Linked DNA regions of Homo sapiens: regions 1 and 2 are each linked to region 3. Evidence: promoter capture Hi-C in 16 types of primary human blood cells and fetal thymus (Javierre and others, 2016). All regions are on one chromosome and are shown on one strand. Each heading gives the region's core, a stretch centred on a gene start or on the middle of the fragment in contact. The rest is flanking DNA. Distances are from core to core; before and after follow the strand shown. Region 1 overlaps MYO5B (myosin VB). Region 2 overlaps MYO5B (myosin VB). Region 3 holds the start of LIPG (lipase G, endothelial type).

The links. Contacts are between HindIII fragments. The CHiCAGO score rates a contact against its expected background, and 5 or more counts as called.
Region 1: a fragment that was not itself captured here is called in contact with the fragment with the promoter of LIPG in region 3 in 1 of 17 cell types (endothelial precursors); the score reaches 5.8 in endothelial precursors.
Region 2: a contact is called between a fragment that was not itself captured here and the fragment with the promoter of LIPG in region 3, in 2 of 17 cell types (naive CD4 T cells and erythroblasts). The highest score is 5.6, in naive CD4 T cells.

Annotation. Positions count from the first base shown.
Region 1 is chr18:49,835,200-49,838,889 of GRCh38, forward strand. MYO5B (myosin VB) reads right to left here. Exons shown (of 40, transcript NM_001080467.3): 37 at 2,318-2,603; 38 at 1,512-1,686; 39 at 145-225. All of the region lies in intron 1 of SNHG22 (small nucleolar RNA host gene 22), which reads left to right. Among named protein-coding and RNA genes, the nearest start is that of SNHG22, 23 kb to the left of the region's middle. The HindIII fragment of the contact is 531 bases long and covers 2,097-2,627 here.
Region 2 is chr18:49,896,848-49,900,502 of GRCh38, forward strand. The region is part of intron 21 of MYO5B (myosin VB); the gene reads right to left. Among named protein-coding and RNA genes, the nearest start is that of SNHG22, 85 kb to the left of the region's middle. RefSeq lists a silencer at 1,632-1,926. The HindIII fragment of the contact is 2,143 bases long and covers 913-3,055 here.
Region 3 is chr18:49,560,179-49,563,455 of GRCh38, forward strand. It overlaps LIPG (lipase G, endothelial type), which reads left to right and starts at 1,879. Exons shown (of 10, transcript NM_006033.4): 1 at 1,879-2,227. The coding sequence starts at 2,131. RefSeq lists an enhancer at 2,086-2,586. The HindIII fragment of the contact is 7,229 bases long and covers 1-3,277 here.

The DNA.
Region 1 (3,690 bases), core at 1,112-3,611, 280 kb after region 3:
GTAGAAAGTCTAGGAATGTAAGGTCTCCCAGCATATATGTAACCAGTATTTTAGTAATAAAGAGAAGCAAGATTAAAGCCCAAATTTTTAATTTCCTTTATAGTCGTAGACTGGACTTTATAAAATTACTATCTTAAAACTCACCTGGATTGTTCGTATAAAGGCCACTGTTACCCGTTCTTCAAATTCATTCAGGGGAGTATAAAGGTTTAAAATTTTGACAATCTGTTGGGGATAAAAACGGAATTTAGCACAGAGCTAAATGAACATGAGACAACTTTTGAACTTTAAAGAATATGTGACATTGGTACAAGAGTATGATCCTCTTTAGACAAGGCCCACAACACAGATGGAGCTGGACTGACATTTACACTTGGAGCCTGCATCCAGGAAACTAGAGCCCACAGCTTTGTCAGGTGGATCTGAGCCCTCTCACCGAACTCATGTCTCCTGTAAACCCACCTGCCCCTCCCCACTATGCTCATTGGTATACACAATGAGGAGTTTAGAATGCAGTTGCCTGAAATCCTCAGCCTCATATCTACTAGTAATTTAAAGGTTTCTTCTGAAGAGTACTGGAGATCTTACCTTAGATGAGAAAGGTCTTGTTTAATACCTAACTACCCCCTGTCCCCCAACATTGTTTACAAATGAGTATTTGAACAGGAGATACTCTTTTGTCTGCCTACCACTGGTTTGGTGGAAGTAGACTGCCCAAATGCAATGCCAGCTGCATCTAGAAGGAAACTTACTTTAAGTGAAATGTATTTAAAGAGAAGAAAAATGTTTGAAGACTTTCTGGAAATGTTTACAGAAGGAAGCAGTTTTTTAAAGAGTTAGATATTTAATATTTTAATAGTAAGCAGAGGAGGTAAGGAAAGGTGTTCACTTTGCTATATTAAGATGTGTTTTTCTGTACTGAGTTTGGATTTTGTTATTTATCTTTCAGGGACTGGCAATGTGTCGGCAACTGAATCATGGTTATACATTTTTTAGGGAAAAGGAAAGTAACACTTAAATGCCCCTAAGTTCTTAATGACTTCATTTAAAACAATATAAATGAGTGTGAGTGAAAATATGACCATATTGCAATTAGTTTTAAAGAAAAGGTTTTTCTTACAGTTATATTTGTAAAGAAAGCAAATACCTGATGCTGCCAATTTCTGAAAATTTGTGGATTTCTATGTAAGAAACATTCCAGAATTCATTATATTTAAAGAAGTTTTTACCTAAACTTAACGTTTTGTGAGTTTGCTACCTTATCTTTTTAAGTGAGTAAGAGGGATAGAGAGTTACTAGAAAACAGTATCTGTGGCATCTTGTTTCACAGACCAAATGGTTTTTGGTTCATCTAGGAATATCCCATCAGCTGCACTTCAAAATTGTCTCATTAGGGGTATATAAAGGGTGGGAGTGCAACACTAACAAATAACCACCAACGAGAACAGACTTGGAATGGACTCAGGGCTTCCTTGGAATACCATGTTGACAGAGGTGCAAAGTGACTGTACCTGCTGGGTGCTGAGGGAGGTACACAGGGAGCAGATAGCCTCTGCGTCCTCCTGGGTTTTCTTCTTTAATTGCAGGAGCTGGGCTGCTTGGATCAGAGGTTCCATGGTCTGAACTGCTCCACTCTGGTGAAGGTTTCTTCCCCGAAGCCACTCCTCAAGCTGACTTATATTGTACCTTAGCCATAGGTAGAAAGCAAGCTATGTTAAGCCGGTCCTCCTAATTCACTGAGAAGGGGACACCTGTTGTGTTTTGCAGGCCCGCTGCAGCTAGTGCCATTATTTATCTCACACGGTTAAAAAGCATGGCAAGTGCCTTGCACTCAGGAACTATTTGTTGAATAAAGAATGAATAAATGAATGAGTGGGTACTTAAAATCAAGCAAAGATGAAATACCTGAAGTGTCTACATAAGTTAACAGGGAAAAACAGGCATTAAATATACTGAATTGTAAGTATTTATATTTAACATTCACAAATGTATTTATACTTCTATGTGAGCCTTCATGCCTCTTAACTCATTGAGTTTTCTCTCTGACCTATCTGCTTTGTATTCAGTCTTTAACTTAGAGTATGTCAACATCTTTAAGCTTTGAACTAATTTGTTTACCAAGTCAACCATCTCAGTGTTCGACGGATTTCACCAACAGGTAAAAAGGTGATGGATTTGAGTCACAGACTGATGGAGACAAGGACTGTCAATTAGATTTGGATTTCATTTTTAGAAACAGCAGTCTTGTGTTCTGATTCTAGCTGCAGTCAGTGAGGGCCCACTCTATCTGTGTTGTTGGGGGGTGCTCCTCCCTTACCTGAGTTGCATGCCTGTGCTCCAAGAGCAGACGTCCTTCCGCAAGAGCAGGTTGTTAAGAGTCACTGCGTTGATCATGTAGAAGAGCTGTTTGAATACCTGCAGGATGATCTCAGGGTCCAAGCCCTGGTCACACATGACTGTATGAAAGGCATTCATCTGGCGGATGATAGCTTCCAGGCAGTATGAGTTATCCCCATCTGCCATGCTGGAGGAGCGCTTCCGGTAGCCGGTGGGCTTCACACCAGATAGACCCTGAATGCTCTCATTTTCCAACATGGCAGAAACTGAAATAAAAGCACAGTTAGAGAAGCTTGCATTCCCCACTAACAATGCAAAGATTGGACCACTCAAATCATTTAGTGCTCCGGGCTTTAGCAATGATACCATCCAGAGGTGTGCAATGTTGACATGCTTAGGAACTTATAACATTTGGCAAAAAATTTCTAATGTGTTGATTTCTGTATGGAATAAAACAGCTGTGGACAGCATTTTCATTTAATTTACTGGCAATTAGACAAAGATGATGGGCATGTACCAGCTCGATTTGGTATCGCCTGTGCTGAAGTCCACAGTTTGAGAATTGAGCAACCTGGGTGTCATCCTCGTCCAGCCACTGACTATGTAAATAAGAGCTTCATTGGTCCGTCATACTTACTAAGCAGCCATTACCTATGCACCAGGGGCTTTATGTTCAGTATCTCTTTCAATCTTCCAACAACTCTATAAAGTACTACCCATTTTTATGAGGAAGTTGAGGTATAAAGCGGTTAAATAACTTGTCTGAGGTCACACTGATAGGGAGTGGCAGGGCCAGGATTTAAACCCAAGTCTGTCTGACTCCAGAACTGCTGCTATTAACCTTCACATTATTCTGAGTATCTCCAGCTTGATATGTCAGTTCTCCCTCTGTCTGGTGCCTTATAAAAAGATTTCCAGACAGGAAGGAGGGTTTGGAATGAACCTCATTTCAAGTAATGTATTTCTAGATTGGTCCTTCTTGGGATTCACTCATAACCTACTTGTGTTGTAAGAACCTGGGGAAAGCATTATGAATAGGTCCAGGTACACTTTCCTTCCCAGCCTTTGCAGAGCACAGTGAGTAATGCATCTACACATAATTTTTCTTCCGATTGAAAATGTAACTGCTCTCATTTCTCAATTCTGATTTCATGTTCAGTGCCCAAGTACACTGCTTGGTTCAAAGCAAGTGTCTAATAAATACTGATGCATCGTGCCGACTGCTGTGTCCTTTCGCATGAACACTCCTGCTTTTTTCCATGAATCAAGTTCATAATAGGTTAAGAGGGTTATGCTTTTTCACTGTATATGCATTTGTACCTTTTGAGTTTACATTTATTATGTATTAAAATT
Region 2 (3,655 bases), core at 734-3,233, 340 kb after region 3:
TCTATCCTTGATCAGCTGTGTACATCCAACCTAATCAACCAACCTTTCTGTGCCCCAGTGTCCTCATGTGTAAAACAGGAATATAATAGTAACTCCTGCCTCAGAGGGTGGTTATCAAGATTAGGGAGATAAAGTACTTTGCTAGGGGCTCAGTAAACATCAGCTATCTTCCTTGTTCAAGTTCTCTATGGAGAACCCTGGAGAGTTGCCCGAGTCTCTGGCTGTCTGGGGTGTGGGTGGGGAGCTCCTATGTCTTTTCATGGGCATCCAGATATTGTCACTGGGGGCTTGTGGAGGCGGTGCATTTTCTGTTCTGGACATCTGACTTCAGAAGGACAGGCCCCAGAAGGCTCGTCCTTGCACCTGCAGGTGTCACAGCCATGCAGCCAAGCCTGGCAGAGGGCAGGGCATGGGGTGCCCACACCCTCGGAGACCCCAGAAACCCTCCCTGCCATGTTACTGCCCTGAAGACCTTCCAGTGGAACAAGATATGGAGGTGGAAGGCAGTGATACTGACGATCCTGACCTTGTGTGTGTCTAGGCTAATGAATGTATCCGTGTCTTAGTTTTTAACAAAAAAAAGTAAAAAAAAATTTTTAAACTTAATTTTTAATTTTCCTGGGTACATAGTAGGTGTGTATATGTATGGGGTATATAAAATGTTTTGATAGATATGCAATGTGAAATAAGCACATCATGAAGAATGGGATACCCCAAAAATAAATTTTAAAAATAGAAAAAAGCTTACAGAATAAGGATATCAAGAAATAAAAAATTTTTGTAGAGTTGTACATGTTTGTGTTTTAAGCTAAGCCTTATTACAAAGAAGCCACAAGTTAAAAGTATTATTTATAAAGTAAAAATATTACAGTACTCCAAGGTTAATTATTGAAGAAAAGCAATTTTCTAGTAAGCTTAGTGTAGCCTAAGTGTACGGCTTATAAAGTCTACAGGAGTGGACAGTTTATAAAGTCGATAGGAGTGGACAGTTTATAAAGTCTACAGGAGTGGAAAGTAATGTCCTGGACCTTCACATTCACTCACCCTACACATCTTCCAGGCCTGCAAGCCCCATTCATGGTAAGTGCCCTATACGGGTGTGCCATCTTTTACACCATATTTTTATTATCCCTTCTCTATGTTTAGATACGTTTAGATACACAAATATCATTGTGTTACACCTGCCTATGATATTCAGTACAGTAACATGCTGTACAGGTTTGTAGCCTAGGAACAATAGGCTATGCCACATAGCCTAGGTGTGTAGCAGGCTACACCATCTAGGTTTGTGTAAGCGAAATCTATGATGTTCACACAACTACAAACTCACCTAACGATGCATTTCTCATAAGGTACCCCTGTCATTAACAGATGCATGACTGTATATGACATATATGCATGATTACATATAACGAATTTAACATATTTACAAAGTGACTACTAAGTATATGGAATCAAATTGATTTAAAAGGCTACTGACTCCATATATTTGTGTCATATTTCTCATATAAAATATATTTAAGGATAACCTTATATTCATAAGTGTCTAAGGAACTTTACTCTCATTATAAATAAATTGTAAGTTAAACTGGCCAACTCTAAATGTGTGCTTGACTAAAGTTAGGCTGGCAGAGAGCCGAGTTCACGGACTACATCGTTTTACTGAATGACGTCATACCACAGCCTATCCCAGGGACACTGCAAGAAATGGTCTCAAGAACCAGCATTGTATATATCACCGTAGGATATGGTGAAGGATGTGGCTTGTCACGTCACAGATTATGAAAGCCCACAGGAAAAACAAGTCAGCACCACGGACAGCTCCAAATCCTCTTGAACTGCATGGTTCTTTTCTATTAAGAACTCTCAAGCCACTCAGTTTTCTTCCTGTTACTGTTTGCATAGAAACTTGGTGCCAAATTTGCATCTTTTCTTTCCAGGTGGGTGTACAAGGCCTTAGGATATGAATGTTGGGTGCTAGCCTTACCCTGGTTTTATCTTTGTTTCCTCCCTTACTGACTTCTTGGCAGTGAGGATACATTTTTAGAAAAAAGCTCCCCAGGGGATTCTAGAGCACAGTCTGGGGATAGGAACCCTACTCTAGCCAGATCATGGTTATCAGTGAATTTTTGAGCTAGATGTTACCTTAGAGATCTCAGGCGAATCCCCTTGGAAGAACTAAAGCCCCAATCATTTCCAAGCTATCAGCTCTGGTTGTGAATACAACTGAGACAGAACCCAGGCCTCTGTCCAGTGGGCACTCTGTCTACTCCCTATGCTGTTCTCACAAATACCTTGGGACACCTTCACCTGTGGTGTCCTTGGTGTTCGCAGATCCTCCCCTTCTGGCTTAGAAACCTTGTGTGACCAGAGGACCACTGCCTAAGTTGTCTCCAGGAATTATAGGAAAAAAAAAATTCACTTGCAAACAGCTGGCCCCATCTGCTAAGAGATTGCAATGAAACAAGCCCCTATATAGAGCTCTAATGGAGATTATGTCAATGCTTCCTCTTGTAACAGAGTGTCAAGCATGTTATTTGACACTGGGTCACACTCCCCACTTTAAATGCCAGCCGGTCCCAAGCAAGGACAATGCTATCTGTATGAGCATGAACCCAAACTAAGGCTAAGAGTCTCCCTTGGACTGAGGAGTTCTCCTGACATGTTCCAAGAGTCTCCCAATAGCTAAATATCTTATAGCTTGGTCAGAGGTGGCAGAACATACCCTGAAACCAGCCTGACAGGTTTCAATCCCAGCCATGCTACTTACTAGCTGTGTGACCTCAGTCAAGCTACTTAACCTCTGTGTGCCTCAGTTTCTTCATCCTTAAAATGGGAATAATATTAATGTTTATCTCCTAGGGTTCTGGTGGGGATTAAATGAGTTAATACGTGAGAAGAGCACAGCGTGCCTAGTCAGGTAGTGCAGGCAAGGGCACAAGAAAGCAAGAGCTTATCCACTCCTCCCGTCTTTTCTGATCACCCTCTACACACAGGGCATCCTGCCCAGGGTAGCTAACACCTGCCACCACTCACAGATGTTTGCCAAGCAGGAAGCTTAAGGCAAAAAGCTTTTTTTATTTTTTTTTTAAATAGGCCATTTAAATCTGCTTTTCTTTGATTTTTCAAGCACGTGGATTGTAAAATGCTAGATTTATTTTTATCCTCTCAAGTTAACTTTAGAAATCAGCAATGCCAATGCAGAGCCCCAAGGCTGGAAAGCAAGGCCTGGGGGAGCCAGCATGTACACAGGGCTCCCAGCAGGGTGCAGCGGTCAATGCCTACTCATCCCTGAGACTGCACTCTGGCTGGAAGGTTAACTCACAACATTTGACTAAGCAAGTCTTTTCTTCCTGTCAACAGCCACAATAGCCACTGCCACCTTGGCATGCTTTGTGCTTGTGTTTTTCAAAGGGCCAGTGCCAGACAGCAGACCTTTTCCTTTGCACTCTTTTCCCTCTGAGTGGATGTGCCCTCCTCCCTGACCTGGTGTATCACAGCAGGCTGACCAGGGGCAGGCACAAGCCCTGTGCCCACCCTGTGCCTGGGCTCTCTGCTTTGCTTCCCCAGTAAGGAGCCAAGCCAAACAAGGCACCCTGTAGAACTAACACAGAGAAACACCCAGTGACAGTCTCTTCTCAGAAAGCCTTGTCTT
Region 3 (3,277 bases), core at 629-3,128:
CTGGGCTCAAGGACTCCTTCCGCCTCAGCCTCCCAAGTATTAATAGCTTGCACTACAGGTGTACCACCTTGCCTGGCTAATTTAAAAATTTTTTTTGGTAGAGATGAGTGTCTATGTTGCCAGGGTTAGGGAAGAGGACTTTTGACTACAGCTTACCCCCTGCCTCAGCCACTAGACCAGGTTGCCAAGAGCTCACATTTAAAGGTCAATTGGCCAAATTGAACCTAGAGCAGAGAAGAGAGACCTGGTTGTCTTGAGACTTTCTTCAAATCTGCAGCCTGTCCCCATGACTCAGTTTTCCCATCTGTAAAATGGAGATAACATTAGACCTATGTCTGTATAGTTTCCTCATGAAGAGAGAGACAGAGTGGGAACAACATATCCGGGGGTGATATTTACCATCGCACACAGACCATTGAGTTCTATACTAAAAAACTAAAGCCCGCCTGAGTCTTGTTAATGAATGATAGCACACGGGAGGGACAAAGCGTGCTCTGCTGGCAGCTGGAGTAACAAAAGTAATGAGGCGAGGTCGGAACAGGATCTGCTGGCTCCGGCTCGGTTTCCTCGCACAGGTCTCTCCAGCTGGATCCTCGACGCTAGGGAGGAAGGGGCGCGGGACTGCTGTGGGGGTTTTCCCTCCCCAGGCAGGGGCAGGACCTGTTCCGGGCGACTGCAGGGTTAAGGGTATCGTCTTAAAGAGCCGGATCCTCCCGGCTGGAGCGAGGCTGGATGGCGGGACGCAGCCTCTCAGCCTCTCGTACCCGCCCTGCGTCCGCAGTGGTTGTTGGCGCAGCCGCCCCGTCGGTGTTCCGGGCTCAGTCCCCGCTCCCCAGCGCCAGACGCAGACTCCGGGCCAAGTTCTCCCTCCGCTCGCTGCTTTCTGCCGCAGGACCCGGATCAATAAAGGGAAGGAGAGCCGGGAGGAAATGATGGAGAACAGAGAGAAAGGAGATGCTTGATTTCACTCGCCAAGGAGTGAGTGCTCATCGGCAGACACTGGGCTCTGGCCACGCGTCTTAGACTCCAAATCTCGGCTCACTGGTCCCTTTGAGGAGGTCGCCTGGTGTTCCCGTAGCCCTCCACCCCACCGTAGGAGAGCGCCTGCCACGAGCTCCGCGCCTCGCTAAGTGCTTTGCTACGTGAACTCTTAGTTTTCCCAACATCCCTAAGCCGCCGATACATTATCACCCACGTATTGCGGACGAGAGAACCGCCTCGGAGAAGCTGGCTGGCTCGCTTGGAGTTTTGCAGCTAGTGGCGGAGCGAGCATTCCGAGCAGGTACTGTGCGATCCTCCAGCGCCGGCCGCAGCTCACAGCCCCTTAGCTCCGCCGGGTTATTGTGCGGCCGCGCCTTCTGCACCTGTTGCGGCCCTCGCTAGGCGGGAAGGGAGGGAGAAGAGGAGGACAAAGGGGATGACCAGGTGGCTCTCCCCCGACGGACTCCCGGCCCAGGGAGCGGATAGACCACTCCCAGAGAGAGTGTGGCTTTGAGCCTTGGAGAGGATGCTCTCCTTCTCCAGGGATCGCCTCCCCAGCGGACGCAGAGTTTCAGGGAAATGTCCGCCTCCGCCACTTGGGATGGCAGTGGGGAGAGGAGGATCTGGGTGTCCGGAGGAGGGCAGTGGGAGAAAGCTGGAGCTGCTGGAGTCGCAGCTGCCTGCGGAGCGGGCCCGGGAGGAAGCGGGGCCGAGCGTGCGGCGTCCACGCGGTGAGTGTGCAGCGCTTTCATTCAAACTTTCTCCAGTCTCGGTTCCGGCGTCAGCAAGGTGTGACCAATCAGAGCCCAGAGACGGGAATAAATTATGCAAATCACCATCTGGCGATGGGTCAGATGACTCCCATACTTTTAAAAACTACCTCTATAGGAGCGTGACAGCAGCGAGTCCTTGCCTCCCGGCGGCTCAGGACGAGGGCAGATCTCGTTCTGGGGCAAGCCGTTGACACTCGCTCCCTGCCACCGCCCGGGCTCCGTGCCGCCAAGTTTTCATTTTCCACCTTCTCTGCCTCCAGTCCCCCAGCCCCTGGCCGAGAGAAGGGTCTTACCGGCCGGGATTGCTGGAAACACCAAGAGGTGGTTTTTGTTTTTTAAAACTTCTGTTTCTTGGGAGGGGGTGTGGCGGGGCAGGATGAGCAACTCCGTTCCTCTGCTCTGTTTCTGGAGCCTCTGCTATTGCTTTGCTGCGGGGAGCCCCGTACCTTTTGGTCCAGAGGGACGGCTGGAAGGTAACGTGAATTTGTTTTTATTCCCCCCAGCCACTTCTCTGTGCTGGGTCCCCTCTGTCTTGCTGATTCTTCAAACCCTCCTTGTTCCTATGAAATTCTTCCTTTCCCACTGCGCTGCCCATTCTCTCCTCCAATCCACCTTGGAGTCCACCTGTCTCTCTGCTGGTCTGATGGGGGCATTCCCGGCAAGTCATGCAAAAGGCAAAGGCTGGCAGGGTGCGCTGGCTCTTGCCAGCCCTCCCACCCCCACCTCCTTCCCTTATACGGCTCCCTAAGCCAGTGCTGGTGCTGTCCAGCCAGCCGAGCGGCCTGGCAGCAGCTCTGAAACCTTGTCCTCATGCCTGAACCTGGAGGTTTGAGAGGCAAGAAGGCTGTCAGAGCTGTGTCTCCTGGAGCTGCCTTTTAATCTTGGTGTAGGTGTCTTGAAAGTTCAGGTGGCAGGGTAGCTGGCTTTGGTTTGATTCGTGCTTGCAGGGAGCGTCTGGTGGGTCGCTTGTGCTTAGAAGCTGCCGGGCCTATTCCCCCAGGTTGCCAGCCTTTTCCTCTTCAACACTCTTGTGCTCCCCCGACTCTTCCTCTTCCCACTCCTCCTCCCTTTCCTCCTCCTGGCTTTTAGCTTCTCTTCCTCTTGGGTTCTGTATGGCAGCCTTTGCCAGTGGAGGCAGCTTGCCCTGGGGGAGCCAGAGTCAGTCAGCTCTGGGGGAGTCAGAATCAGAGTGAGAACTAAGTCAGCTGATAAGCAGTGGAGGGCTGGGGAGCCTCTAAACTGAACCCCATCATCTCATCTTCTAGTCTGCTGAGGTTGTGCCAAATGGTCTGTGTGGGCTTGTGTATGTGTGGGAGGGTTACTGTGAATGAATGGAAAGCCTTGCTTTACTCAACATGTTTCCAACTCTGGTGCTAACTAGAAGCATTGCCTAGGGCAGGTCTCATCTCTGGCTCCTCACCTGTAAAATGCTAAAGTTCCTTCTAACTTCTGTGTTCTGGGCCTCTGAGTATGTGTGAGTCATTTCCTTCATTGCAAAAAGTATTTACTGCATACCTACTTAG